Linked DNA regions of Homo sapiens: all the other regions are linked to region 1. The links are contacts of gene promoters, found by promoter capture Hi-C in blood cells and fetal thymus (Javierre and others, 2016). All regions are on one chromosome and are shown on one strand. Each heading gives the region's core, a stretch centred on a gene start or on the middle of the fragment in contact. The rest is flanking DNA. Distances are from core to core; before and after follow the strand shown.

Region 1 (3,609 bases), core at 548-3,047:
GACAGACAGTAACCTGGACTATCTTGAACATTCCTCACATTTTACACAACGATTCTATACTTTCCCACGAAATGAATGAAAGTCCAGATTCTACTTGTGCACTTCAGCATCCCAGGTTTCCTAGAGTTGCTACTTCCAACTCGGTACCCTGTCCCACCGTGAAGCAATGCTTTATACTAACAAAAGAGAACAGATCTGAGCACAACAGGAATAATGAGAAATAGGAAGAAACTGGCCCATAAGCAAATGGAACACCAGAAATCAATACTGTTCTATGTGCCTGGAATTTGTAAAGAAAATGATCCTCTATCCTTGAATTCATAAATTCGATTTAAAATATTCATTTATGTTCGATTAATGTAAATAAGGATTTGTTATGTACTGCATTCCTGGTTGTCAGCTATTTTTTTCTCAACAAAGAAAAATTCATTTTAACTTAAGATCACTTGGAAAATGTCCTAAATAAGCACTCCAAAACCCTCTATTACAAATATATGTGGAAACTAACTTTAGAATATATTTCTTAAAATGAATGATTCATCGGATATAGTCCAAATACTATTAGCTAATCAAATTGTGAAATTCTAATTAAATGGCTACTTAAGTTTAATCTATTTAAAAATCACAGGCAGGAGGCTAAACACAGAGAAAGGGTTTAGACCATTTGGTTCTAGCTTTTATAAATTGGTTTAAGACTATTAAGCTTACTTTCACTCATTTTATTTTGTAATTTTATAAGTCTCATTTATTTGGCTCTAAATTCTACATCTGGGTATTTAAGGAGCTCGACCTTCCAAACTGTTAATATTAACTTCTTGGAAGCAATCCCTCCCACATTAGCGCTTTTTCTCAATTTGGGTACAATCAAGGGGGAAACAATTGGATATCCAAGGGCTCCTTCTTTTAAATAGCAGCCCAGGAAGACAAAAGTGAGAAAGAAAAAGAGGAGCATCTTTAACCAGCAACCTTGAAAAAAGGCATCCCCAACAGCTGTCGCCAACTCAGCTGGCTCGCTCCCATTTCTCAAAACACCGCCTGGACGCCTTGGTCAAAAAAAGAAAAAGAAAAGAAAAAAAACCAGATTCCCGCTTCCCTGGGACAGGGAGCTCCCTTTTGTAGAAGTAGCTAAAGAAAGCGAGGCGCCCCACGGGATTTCATCTCGTCGTCAAGGCAGCGCCAACCCCAGCCGTCCGGCGCAAGGAAAGCTCCGGCGGGCCCGGAGCCCACGGCGGCCCCAGCCTCCGGCAGAGCAGCCCCGGCAGAGCCCGGAGCCCCGCGGCCGCAGAGTTCCGGCAGCGACCCCGGACGGCCCGGCGGGCGTCCCCCGGACCGCGGCGGAAGGCGGGAAGACGCGGCTCGACTTACAGTGACACCATCCTAGGTGACAGCACCAGTGCAGCTTGAAGCACTTGCCATGGCTGTGCGTGGCACAGATAGACAGCCCGTCGCACGGCTGGAAGTCGGGTCTGCGGGCGGCGCAACTCCGCGCCAGGGCCTGAGCCTCATCTAGTTTCTCGCTCTTCCAACCCCGCTCCGACGCCGGCGAGGCCGCCGCACTCATTTCCTCTCCCTCCGCGCGGAGCCGACACCGGGAGCCCGGGAGAAGCGACGTCTGGGTGGGCAGGAAGCCGAGCCGGCTGCGGACGCGGGAGGGCGCGGCACGGGCCGGGAGTCACGCCAGCACGCGGCGGCGGCGGGAGCGCGGCGGTCCCAGGCTCGAGGAGGAGCCGCCCCGGGCGCTGCGACCGGGTCCGGGCTGGCAGCCTCCCTCCCTCCGGCGCGGCGCGCGCCGCGCCCCACGCGCACACGCACGCGCACAGGCGCGCGCCGGTCGGCCCCGCGCGACGTTCCTCAGCGAGCCCGGCCTTCTCACACACACGCCGCTGGGGAGCTTGGCCGTCGGCGTCCCCGCCGGTCACAGCGAGGTCCTCCTCACATACTCACTCCTTCCTCGGAGAAAGACCCCGACGGAGGGCCGTGGTGAACACACACTCCTCGGCCGCTTTGTACTCACATGCACGCCAGCCTACATATGCACTTCCCCCCGAGTGACACTGGCCACCGAGAACTGACACACGCGTCCACACGCTCCACGGAGGGCTGCGCACACCTGGCCCACGCCCACCCGAACCTCCTAGTGGCCCGGGCCGGGTGCATCGCGTAGCGAGGATCTCACACACACAGCCTGTCCCCACAGGCGTCTCACATCTCCCTCGTACACACCTCCCCGTGTCTGGGCATGGAGCCCCTGGGAGGCGCGCACACGCTCGTGCACACGCGCGCACTCCCCCCACCCAGGGCGGGCCTCCTGCCCCAGCGCGGCCACAGGGCGCGTCAGGGGCCAGCACCGCCAACCCCTGCCCGCCTCGCCCCAAACCCCAGGCCAGTGCGCCCGGGCCTTCCCGCGCCCGCCCCAACCTTCGCCGGGACCGCAGCCCCTCCCCCTTCTCCTCCCACCCCCGCCTCCGTTGAGCGGGAAAGCAACAAAGCTGGGTGCATTGATGTGTGTGTGTGTCTGCGTATGTGTAGTTTGGTGTGCATGGGATGTGTGTGTTGCGTGCGTGTGTATGATTATTTGGAGTATGTATGGTGGGTATGCGTGTGTGGTTGTGTGTGGTTAGGTGTGTTCATGGTACATGGTGGGTGGTATGCGTGATGCAAGTGACTGGTGAGGTGTGTGTATACGTGTGTATGTGAAATGAATGTTATAACTGAGGTGGAGTGTGGGTGGTGTGTGTGTGGTTGAGTGTGTGTGGCGTGCAGAATATGTATATGTGTGTAGTTGGACGTGCATGTGCTTGTGCACGTGTTGTGGGGGTGGGTATGCTTAGTAATACAGAGTGGTGTGTGTATGGTATATGTGTGGCAGTGCAGTGCGTGTATCTGGCATGTCGAGTGTGCACATGGCATATACGGATCAAATCGGGTGTGTGTGGTACATAGGAGTGGGTGGGCACACAAACAGGACTCATGTATGCGGAGGACTCTGCCTTTCTGTGTTAGCGCCTGCTCTGGCCAGCAGGTGTGACTGACCCTGTGGTGGCTGCGGCTTCCCCACACAGTTGGCTCGCACTCTTCCCTCCTGGGGACAAGTTGCTCCAAATAGATTTTCCATGCCAGGCTCTGCTGCTGAGAACCGACCCCAGGCTGGATTCACTGAAGAGGAAACAAACCATTTGCTCCCATGGTGCACTGCTGGGAATTAGTGTTTCCCTGCAACAAGGCCAGAACCCAGCCTTGAACACAGAAGAGGAGGGGACACCCCCTCCTTATTTGCCAAACGCACAGAAGAATGCTTGTTCAAGGAACAAGGCTTTCAGCACAAACACTGTGTGGGAACATGTTTATGCCCAGGTCCACTTTCTCCTTTATGCCTTTCCTGCTTTGCACTGACAAGAGACTCATCATGGTTTTGAAACAACCAAATTCATCCTCAAGCTTGAAAATCCTTGCTGCCATAAGCAATCTTTCATAATTTTCCCTTTTATGTAACCTTGGCTTGAGAAGGGAAATGTAATTTGCATATATCTGACTCTGGTGAAATCTTCATTTATTAGGGATTGGGGAGAGACTCAATTTGGCAGCAAAAGTATTTTCCAGAAAGGTCTG
Region 2 (3,609 bases), core at 783-3,282, 240 kb before region 1:
CAAAAAATGTCTGAGACAAGTCTCAATTTAGAGGTTTATTTTACCAAGGTTGAGGACACACTAGGAGAAACATACACAAGCTACAGTAGGATCTTCGGCCTGTGCTTTTTCCACAGAGGGTTTTGAGAACTTCAGTGTTTAAAGGGTAGAGAGTGGGCAAGAGGGAAAAGAGGAACAGTTAATTATGCATTTGTCTCATGCTCAGTGAATCTGCATTTTACAGAAGGTAATGTAATGCCCAACCTTGTTTTCACTAACCCTGTTTTTAGACTCTCCCTTTTGCTCTCGTAATCACCTAGCCTTGTTTCCACATGAATAGACTCCCTTAGCTGAGAAAGCTGGACGAGCTCCATCTGGCCCCCTTGATTTACAAGACATTAAGGACTCCTTACCCACCCCTCTTTCCTCAAGGAGTTAACCTGTGTAAGCAGATTGTCAACATATCAAAGGAGTCCAGTTAACTGATAAGGTACTGGAACAAACCATGTATGAAGTTCCCAGCATTTTGCTCAAAAGATAACACCATAAAGCCTTCAGTTTGTGTCCGGCGTAGTGCCCATATCTAACTCTTATGAAGGATTTAGAGCCCCGCACCTGGTACCTTGCTTTTTTTGTAACCATTTGTCTTTTAAATTGTTTGTTTCCCTGTAACCATTCGTCCTTTTAATTTTTTTGCATGTTTTTACTTCTGAAGAGTTGTTGCATTTAAGCTCCCCTCCCCTTTCTAAACCAAAGTATAAAAGTTAAGCCCCTTCCTCGGGGCCGAGAGAATTTTGAGCGTTAGCCTTCTCTTTGGCTGCCGGCTGAATAAAAGACTCTTAATTCGTCTCAAAGTGTGGCGTTTTTCTAACTCGCTCAGGTACAACAGTAAAGTAAACATAGAATAGAGGAAGAAGTCAAATATGCATTTGTCTTGGGATGGGCTGAGGAATAATTTATAGTCTTATCTTTGTCCAGTGCCTGTGAAGATCAGCTATTAATTTACATTGTCAGGGTGAGGGAGGCCAGCTGGGGAGACATGGCCTTCTATCTTGCAGCAATCTGTTTAGGAACCAAAGGTAGCCAGGATTTTCGTTTGTTTGTTTTTGTTTTTGTTTTTTACATGACTCAATTCCGAAGCTTAACTTTTCCTTTTGGCATAGTGAGTTTGGGATTCTGAGACTTTATTTTTCTTTCACTCGTGTTTATCTAGTTAGCCAATAAACATTAAGTTGTTATGCCATGCAGGTGGTGATCACCATGTGTCATACGAGTTGATGTGAATCAAATGACATTTGGAATGGAAGCAAAATGTAGTTATTCATACATTTGGAGCAATTCATGTTTACATGCACTAACAACATCACAGATTTTGAGTATTTGTGAAAGATTACTGATAAAGGCATACACTTGCTTGCATTATGTCCAGTATTCATATTACCAAAAATAGAAACTCCAGCTCTTCATTATTGCCAACCACAGATTCCCATCATCTGTGCGCTGTGGGCGTTCCCAGTCACTTCACCCTGTTGATGCTCCTGCTCCATTCTGTATTGCCCTTGACCCCTTGGCTTCAAACTTTGTCATATTATCTTTCTGATTTCTTTAGTCAGAGAACAGGCTCGTATCACAAGATGGCAGAATCTTACATTTTTTATGTAACTTAGAATAGAAAGGGCCCTAAAGATCATTTAGTTTAGTTCTGTTACTTTAAACATTTGGGAACAATGGCCTTTTCAGCCCTAGAGCACGGTAGGTGGTAAAAGTCCATATTACAAATAAGAAGACAGTATGGTTATGCCTTAACACTAATTAATTGGTTCTGATGTACAGTTCATCAGCTCATTGCCTGCCCTACACCTTCCCTTGGCCCCAAGTTAGTTAGGCCAACAGTACATAGATCTCTACCCTCAGATCTATTCCTTCTACATCTATCTTAGGGTAGCTTATATTGCTCTTGTGTCTGTGACAAGAATCTAATGGAAACTCAAAAGCCAATAAAGTGGTCTTAACTTCCTGTTATTTGGGAATATACTTACCTCACCTTAAATGCCAAGTTTTATTTTTTTGTTTCTACATAAAGATTATTTTTCTGAAAAGGTTTTGAGAGAAAATTGCTGAAGATACTTCTCTTTCTATTTTAGATGAACAAGTTGTTATGGGCAATAAGCTCCTTGTATATATTAGGTAAGATTGTTTTATTTATTCATCTGCATGTATGTTCTTTCTATATTTTTCCTATATTTTTAGAGATACTATGATCTCTTATCTATATAGTACTTTTAATTTTGCACAATTCTTTTATGTAGAGCAGTGGTTCTCAACCATGGATAATTTTGTCTCCTACTCCCTGGAGATGTTTGGCAACATCTAGAGACATTTTTGGTTGTTATAACTGGGGCTAGAGAAGGGATGCTACTGGTATCTAGTGGGCAGAGGCCAAGGATGCTGCTAAGCATCATACAATGCACAGAATAGCACAACAAAGAATTATCTGGCCCGAAGTATCAGTAGGGCTGAGGTTGAGAAACCTTGGTGTTGAAACCCGGGTTTTTTATGTTTACTAGTGACACCTATGTGGGATGTGTATTGTTTCTACATATGAGGGCAAGAGACTTGTTCAAATCATGAAAAAGTTAGTAACAGAGGTAAAACTAGAATGTTTATCTCCTGACTCCTGGAGCAGGGTTCATTCTAGTAGACTATGCCAGCTCAGAATTGAGCCCTGATAGAACTTTTCGGTAGATGACTATTTGTCAGGAAGGTGGCAGAACCTAGCAGAACATCATTTGAGCTCATATCTAATGTCAGAGTTAACTTTGAAACCTGTTTCACACTTGTTACATTGATTCTTTAGTGTGAAAGAAATACGCATTTACTTAGTGCTTTATCATCTGTACCTTAAACTCTTCAGGATATGCTGGTGTCCAGTTGTCTCCAGTCTAACATTGAAAATTGTAGTTTAAAAAGCTTTAAAATTTGCTCCCTCCCCGCCAAAAAATAGAAAAAAGGTAGACATGTTCAGATGACATTTGTAGTAATTCAGCTCACAAGGCAAGTCTTTAGCCATGAAGAAGGTTTGATTTGGAGGTAAAACTGTAGGGTGAATTTCTCTTCAGATTCTAATTCTCCCCGGTTTGTCCTGTCGCAGACTTCCCAGACATTTAGCCTCTTTCCCCATCTTTAATACCATTCTTAGAGACCCTGGTTTAACAGTATCTGAGAACGCCAGGCTTTTAACAGATTAATCATAGTATAATGGTGCCATTAGGCACCATCTTTCTAGACGCTGGGTATGAGGCCTTTAGAAGTCTGTCCTCATTCCTTCTTGCCCCTTTAATAGAGCATTGGTTTTTCTTAGGAAACATACGAAGAAACGAAAGCTCCCACTCAGTCACAGGATGCATTACCTCACCTCCATATCTGTTGCCCACATTTTCTAAACTGGGTGTCATCTTGACCTGCTTTGGAACTTGACCTAACTGACAAAAGCTGAGCCTACTTACAAATTGAACTAGTATCTCAAGTTTGAGAAACAATGTGTTACTCGCTTGAAAGTTATCCCCTTTACAAGTCACCATATCCATTCTCATTCTTTTCTTCTAGCTGTTGTCTAGCAGGTCGTGCCTA
Region 3 (3,609 bases), core at 286-2,785, 220 kb before region 1:
TACTACATTTTGTTTATTCATTCATCCACTGAGGGCCATTTGGATTGTTTCCACCCTTTGGCTATTTTGAATAGTGCTGCTATGAAAAGCCCCAATACTTAATTTTTAAAAAATTAACATGTAAACATGGATACCAGCTGTGGATAGACAGATTGTAAAGAACCGTAAGACATAAAAGTGAGATAAAAATTCACTTCTTGAAAGATATATATGGACATTTTAGCTTAGCAGAGAGTCAGCTCAATGTCTAATAGGGCTTTATTTGTAAACACTGTGGCGTTCTTTCCATGTTTGGAAAGCAGAGCCATTTATCTTTTTATAGGGCTTAAATGCAGTATGATCAAGTTTATAATGTCAGTCTAACCCCTTCCATATGTGACAGCAAGCCAAAATATCATCAACTAAGAATACAAAAGAAAAAAATTAAATGTTATAGTCTGCATGGCTGAATGCACTCTTAAAGAGCTAGTAAATTCTCAAGTGTTTTTACTCATTTATTGTAAATACTCAGGTCCTTTTAGAATTGCTGCAGGCTGGAGGCATAGTTCAATTTGAAGAGAGTCGACTCATCCGGATGGCAGAAAAAGCTGAGTTGTAAGTTGTTTTGAGGCTGTATATTAGTTTGCCATAGAAATATTAAATTATATTTCTTTAACTTAAAGCTCAGTTTATTGATACATTGCTGCTTTTTTAATTAGGAAAGATTATACAAATAACAAAAAGCTAAGGGTGAAAATTTTTCCCTTTTAATTGAATTCTAGAAATTAGTAAAATTTGCAGAAATTGATAGGGCAGATATGAAACTTTTATATAATTGTTTAAACATAAAGTGAAATAGTCTTATGATGTTTTATTATTTTAGATTTTTTCTTTAATATTTCCATGTTTCATAAATTGTTGATGGTTATCTTAGATATATTAGAGACAATGCAGTATTTGACGTAGTAAATAAGATGATATGATCACATTGCTACTTACCTAGTATGCTGTATTTATATGACATGTAATTCTGAACAGAGGAACTTTATGTAAAATTTTTGTAAATTATCAATTAATATCTAACATATTCACTATTTCTTATGTGATACACTATTGTTTTAGTATTTCCTTTGTATTCAGCATTGAAATTTTTTATAAACATAATATTTAGCAGCCTCTTGAACCTATAGTTAAAGGTTAACGGCAAATACTCATCTCCCTTAGTTATTCACTGTAACTTTATTTAACAATAGAAATCACATCTACTATATTAATTTTTCTTTTTTTTCTTTTGAGACAAAGTCTCCCTCTGTTGACCAGGCTGGAGTGCAGTGGTGCGATCATAGCTCACTGTAGCCTTAACCTCCTGGTCTCAAGCAATCCTCCTGCCTCAGCTTCCGTAGTAGCTCAGATGACAGGCACATGCCACCATACCTGGCTTTTAGTTTTTTTGTAGAGACGGGGTCTTGCTATGCTGCCCAGGCTGATCTCAAACTCCTGGTCTCAAGCAGTCCTCTTGCCTCAGCCTCCCAAAGTGCTTGGATTATAAGCATGAGCCAGGACACCTGGCCCACTTTTCCTAATACTAACCTGTGTGCCAGAGCAAATGTCTCAAAAACCTCCCTGTTTGGTACACTGAAGTTTTTCCCTTTACATTCTAGCTATCAAATTTGTGAATTTATGTATGAAAGAGAACACCAATATGATAAAATTATTGATTGCTACTTACGTGACCCTCTGCGAGAGGTGAGTCAAGATACTGCTTTACTCTTTTTTCTTACTCAACTTTCCCTCTTATTGAGTACAAATAACTGTTGAGTAGAAATATTTGCGCATGTGTATGAGCCAAATACACATTGATAATTAAAACAGATACAGTTCTTGCAGTTTTGGAATGTATAATTTAGTGATGGAAACTGACAGTAAACAAAGTCAAATATGATTACAAATTGGGATAAATGCTAGGGAAGAGAAACCGAGTGCTACTTTAGAGGATGATGGGGAACTGACTTACACAGAGTAGCCAGGGAAGGAATTTCAGAGAAAGTGACATATAAACTGAGTTTTGGAATTTGAGAAGCCAGTGAAGGAAAGAGCCAAGAAGAGTGTTCCAGGATGGGTAACTGTATATGCAAGAGACCTGAGGTGGGGAAAATTGACATGTTCAAGGAGCTGAGTAGAGATCATATAGATGAAGTGAAAATCAGTATAGGTGGAGCATAATAGACAAGGGCAGGAGTGGTTTCTGCTGAAATTGGGAATGTGGACAATGGGATCCCCAAAAGCCAAAGTGTGATACTCCTTCATTAGGTCACTGAAGATTAATAAATTCAAACCAAAATTAATTAGAACTGATTTTTTGCTTCTAAGAGTCTACCCTAAATTTTAAACAATTACTCTTTATTTTTAGGGACAGAGTTTTCCATCAGTTAACTATCTCCAGATAATTTTTCATCTTCAGATAATAGATGTTTACCAAGACTGGTTCAGTTGGTAGGGACTAAATCTTGAGTGAGTGAATGAATAAATTATATTGTCTTGTGCTCTTCAGGAAGAAGTCTTTAATTACATTCACAATATCTTATCCATTCCCGGACACAGTGCAGAGGAGAAGCAGTCTGTATGGCAGAAAGCAATGGATCATATTGAGGTACTGATGCGCAAAACTTCACACTTCACCATCTGAACGATCATCTAACCCAAGTTAACTTTATGCCAACGAAGCAATGGCATGTATCATATTAAGTTGATTTAATTTAGGGTTGAAATCTTTTTCGTGTAATTATTCTACCTCATATTTGTATTCATAAAGTCTGTGTCACATGCAATCTATTACATCATGACTTCTGAAACTAGCCCATGTTCAATCAGCCAGTGACAAACTATTATTAATGCATTTTTACAAAGTTCATAGAATGATTCTGAGAGTACTGCTTGTCCTTTTTTCCTAATATGTGATGAGTGCCATTCCCTCCAATCATCTAATGGACTTTTAGAAAAATTACTGCAATGAGTTTTCTCTCTGATGTGTTTCTCTTCCTTATATAACAGGATGATGATTCTGACCTAGCTGTGGTCAGCTAATTCACTGATTTTGTTGATGCCTGCTATTTTACAGAGGATGCAAGTATTCACTTCTATTGAAACAAAAAGTTCCTATTAAGAAACAATGCTTCTAGATATACAAATAGACTACTTGCGTGATGAGGGCTGTGATCACAATGTGTTCTGAAATGGGACCCAAAAATCACTTCTTACTTTAGTTTCCTTATGTTCATAACATACTCCTTACCCCAGAATCCAACAGAACTAGCAGTTTTGTTGAAATCTCTTATTTTTATGTTTTATGTTATTTTATCTATTCTGTTTATTTCTGATGATTGAAAAAAAGTAGTAAGAAAAGAGGTAATCCTCTTTTGGAAATAACATTTAAACTGAGGTAATCCTACTTTTGGAAATAACATTTATATCTACAGAGTTGCTCTCATTCTTCTTATAGCAAGAGTCAGGTGGTGGATTTGGAGATGTAGTAAAGATACGATTATTCAACATGTTTGAACATTTTTTATAGATATGAAAAACTATAAGAAAGGATATGATGTGGATACTTTGTTTTAGTTCCCGAAGGTT
Region 4 (3,609 bases), core at 631-3,130, 200 kb before region 1:
AAAGGGAAGGGCCCCCTGTCCCATGATCATGTGACTTGCTTCACCTTATCACTTAGAAGATTCATCCTCCTTACCCTGCGCCCCCTCGTCTTGTATGCAATAAATATCAGCACGCCCAGTCGTTTGAGGCCACTGCTGGTCTCCGCGTCTTGGTGGTAGTGGTTCCCCGGGCCCAGCTATTGTCTCTTTATCTCTTTGTCTTGTGTCTTTATTTATTACAATCTCTTGTCTCTGCACACAGGGAGAACACCTGCTAAGCCCCGTAGGACTGGACCCTACACGTTTTCCTCTGTTTGAAGGCAGTCCAATGTACTGTCTACATTCATTTCAGTTCAGTTCAATATATATTTACATCAGATTACTGAGCACTATTTATTATGTCTTAATGATGGGTAAACAATTATGAATGCAATACCATGGACTTTACAATGTGGTTGGGGACACACATACTTAAACATGATTTTCAAGTTGTGGGTGAGAACTAAGGTGGTGGTATACATAGGGAATGGCCAGTCACTGAACAAACTTCTGTATTAAAGGCAGTTATAAGATACAAAAAAAAAAAAGAACACTCTTTCTTTGGAATTTATAGCCAATTTGAGGAGATACTGAATTAGCCCATCAGCAAGTATTGAAAGTTCCAAGCAGCAGAATTTTTTTAGTTTATCGTTTACCCACCTCTGGTATCACAAAGCTCTTAAATTAGGGAAAATGCCCTGTGTCTAAATACAGTCTCTTTTTCTTTGACCCAAGCTTCTTATTAGTAAAAGTAGAAGCACTACTTACCATCACTTATGAATAATCACAAAATCCAAATTGTTCTTTCTGGAGTCCAGAGAGTCCCACCCTGTGGCTATTGATGTACTGTACATGGTTACAAGTGTGCCTGCAGACTGTCTCAGCTCTTGGGACAACCAGAGTCCCTTGTGAGCAATCTTACTTCACTACAGTGGACCAAACAAATATCTTATTTTCTGTGTGCCACAATATGAGAAAACCTGGAAACTACTTCTTTAGACCATGTGCTTTAACCTTTCTTCAGAACTGGGCTAGTTTTCCAAGCAATCATTGTTGTATCTTATTAACCGTATTCCAGTTATTTATATAATAATGAGCTTTAGTTGAGGAATTCCGAAGAGAAGATAGGACTCTCAGAAGGAACTAAGTTCTTTTGAAGCTAGAGAGAGGATGATTCTTAGGTCTCCAATGAACAGTTGATTTCCTAAGCAGCTACTTTCGGCCATCAGTAGTTGAGTGCTTGAGTGGCCAGTATGATGCAGTTAATACTCTACTTCCAAAACTTTTGTGTAGGCATTGTGAATAGCGGGCTATGTGAGTAGCTGGTGTACTAGGCAAATGAACCCATAAATATTGTGTATTTTAGTATTACTCCTTTATTTATTATAACAATAACCAAAAAAATTAGTCCTCACTATGTGCAAGACATTGGTTAGCTTCAAAAATTTACTACTGAGAAGATACCTGGTACCTACCCCTCACAGAATTTATAGTGTTTTAGAGAAGATAGATAATTAAAGAAGTCATTGCAATGTGATATGATTGGTGCTATGAAGAATATAAAGAAGAAACACTTACTGAGATTGGAAGATGGTTATATATAGTTACTTAGAGATCAAAGTATTAGGACTAAATTGGGTGGCTCTTGTTTCTTTTAGAATAAAACACAACTTTTGGTATGATTTAGAAGAGTTTCAACTGAATGTTACTTCCTTAATTATTCAACATAACCTGAGTAATATTACAACTTACAATGCCTCTTATGTAATGTACAGTTTGCTCAAGTAACCTAAATAACATTGAGACTTTCAATTCATATTTTTATCTGACCAGCAGGTAGTCCTAGTTTTAATGTAATGTGCTTTTTACTGGTAGCTTTTAATTATAGATGTGATTAAATAATGCTACAATTGAGTGTTCTCTTTATCTTTTATGTTTTTAGGGAAGGTATTCATGTAAATCAAGAATTACTGCAAATATCTCCTTGTATCACAGAGCAGTTCATTGAGCTGTTGTGTCAGTTCAACCCAACCCAAGTTATAGAGACTCTGCAAGTCCTTGAGTGCTACCGTCTGGAAGAAACTATTCAGGTGAGACGAACAATGTAAAAGAGACAAGAGTAAACTCTTCTTAACATTCTCCATTTGACAGATGATCAAAGACAAGGGGAAAAAATATATAATTTCTTTTTTAAACCTTATAAATTCTTAGTTGAGACATACTCCTGAAAACAAAAGTCAGATTAACAAAAGAAAAACAGAGGTTTATTGATATGTGCTATACCCATCATGTAGGAGAGACCTCAGTTCAAAAGTATCTTTCTCAAGGCAGTGGCTTAGGGGCTTTGCTTAAACTGTATTTTAACAAAGAGCCTTAAATCTTACATAGTGACAAGACAGGAGAGAGCAGTTCCAGCCTAGTAAAAGGTGGAAACATGTATGGGAAGATAGTCAGCTGTGTTCCCAGATTCCTCCCGTGCCTGCTGGTGCCTTCTCCGGGCCAATAAGCAAGTGCTATCTCCAGTAAAGAATGTATGTCCTGCTATCAGGCAGATAGAGGCGGGAGCAGAGGATTCCCCTGCATTTTCATTGTCTTTAACTTAACAATCCTCAATATTTGGGGGAAACATATTTTGGTTTTGTTCAGTGCCCCCTTTGAAACTTTACTTTTAGAAAGTTTCACATATTAAACGCCGGGTGGGTAACTGTGGAGAGATTTGGGTTAGTGGTTTTGACGTAATAGATTGGCAGAGGGGAGAAAATCATAGATTGGAACAAGTGGAAAGGAACAAATTCGGGTACATTGTCCCTTATTGAAACAATCTCTTGGTTGTGAAAATGGGTCAGTTTAGTTAAATAGTTGCATCTCATTTTAGGAGGTGGTGGTGTTGTAAGTGTGTTTCCGACAAAGGTATAGGCACATAGGCATTTAATAAAAGACATTTCTATAGAAACAAAAAGGAAACAAAAGTTAATGTTTGGAGCAGTCTCTAAGCTTGTCTCTCAGTCTGGAGGGGAGCCAGCTGAGAATATTTCAAGATTTGTGTTTAAAGTATCTATAGTTGGGGTGGAAGTAGGAAATGGCAATCGGACAGATTTTCCTGGATTGCCGTTTGAATGAGGTGTTCCAGTGAACTTTCTGTCCATAAATAAGTTGTGGTGATTCCTCCAAAGTTAATATCAAGTTGTCTAGCTTTAGTGTGCAGAGCTTCAGGAAAAGCAGTTTTAATTTCAGTGATTCCAAGTCAGAAAAATGGGAGAAAATGTTCAAATACTAGTTTGGAGAGTTGGTCAGATATTGGAGGAAACTAAAAATTCAGATTTAGTCAAATTGCAAGTAAATAATAAAATCTCAAAAACCGTGAGTTAGAATCTCATAATGTTTACTGTAGTTTTTTTTTCTGAAATAGTTTTTTCTCCAGTTCCCCCATTTTTACCAAAAATAATCAGAGTAAGTTCAATTGACTTGTAAAATAAGTTTAGTGTCATATTTGGCCTGATTATTTATATAAGTACTGCAAGAGTAGTGATTGGCCATTTAGGCTTTTTAAAAATCTCCTCTGCTGAAACTTACAAGAAATCTCAGAGTAGA

Evidence for each region. Contacts are between HindIII fragments. The CHiCAGO score rates a contact against its expected background, and 5 or more counts as called.
Region 2: a contact is called between a fragment that was not itself captured here and the fragment with the promoter of C3orf70 in region 1, in 2 of 17 cell types (endothelial precursors and erythroblasts). The highest score is 8.8, in endothelial precursors.
Region 3: a contact is called between a fragment that was not itself captured here and the fragment with the promoter of C3orf70 in region 1, in 1 of 17 cell types (endothelial precursors). The highest score is 6.6, in endothelial precursors.
Region 4: a contact is called between a fragment that was not itself captured here and the fragment with the promoter of C3orf70 in region 1, in 1 of 17 cell types (endothelial precursors). The highest score is 5.8, in endothelial precursors.

What each region holds. Positions count from the first base shown.
Region 1 is chr3:185,151,263-185,154,871 of GRCh38, forward strand. C3orf70 (chromosome 3 open reading frame 70) reads right to left here and starts at 1,798. Exons shown (of 2, transcript NM_001025266.3): 1 at 1,366-1,798. The coding sequence starts at 1,561. RefSeq lists a silencer at 1,204-1,423 and an enhancer at 1,844-1,983. The HindIII fragment of the contact is 2,735 bases long and covers 702-3,436 here.
Region 2 is chr3:184,911,396-184,915,004 of GRCh38, forward strand. VPS8 (VPS8 subunit of CORVET complex) reads left to right here. Exons shown (of 48, transcript NM_001009921.3): 26 at 2,124-2,166; 27 at 3,586-3,609. Among named protein-coding and RNA genes, the nearest start is that of VPS8, 100 kb to the left of the region's middle. RefSeq lists an enhancer at 649-1,212. The HindIII fragment of the contact is 1,830 bases long and covers 1,118-2,947 here.
Region 3 is chr3:184,927,940-184,931,548 of GRCh38, forward strand. It overlaps VPS8 (VPS8 subunit of CORVET complex), which reads left to right. Exons shown (of 48, transcript NM_001009921.3): 32 at 512-594; 33 at 1,641-1,725; 34 at 2,531-2,629. Among named protein-coding and RNA genes, the nearest start is that of VPS8, 120 kb to the left of the region's middle. The HindIII fragment of the contact is 5,283 bases long and covers 1-3,609 here.
Region 4 is chr3:184,955,414-184,959,022 of GRCh38, forward strand. VPS8 (VPS8 subunit of CORVET complex) reads left to right here. Exons shown (of 48, transcript NM_001009921.3): 37 at 1,961-2,108. Among named protein-coding and RNA genes, the nearest start is that of VPS8, 150 kb to the left of the region's middle. The HindIII fragment of the contact is 2,259 bases long and covers 752-3,010 here.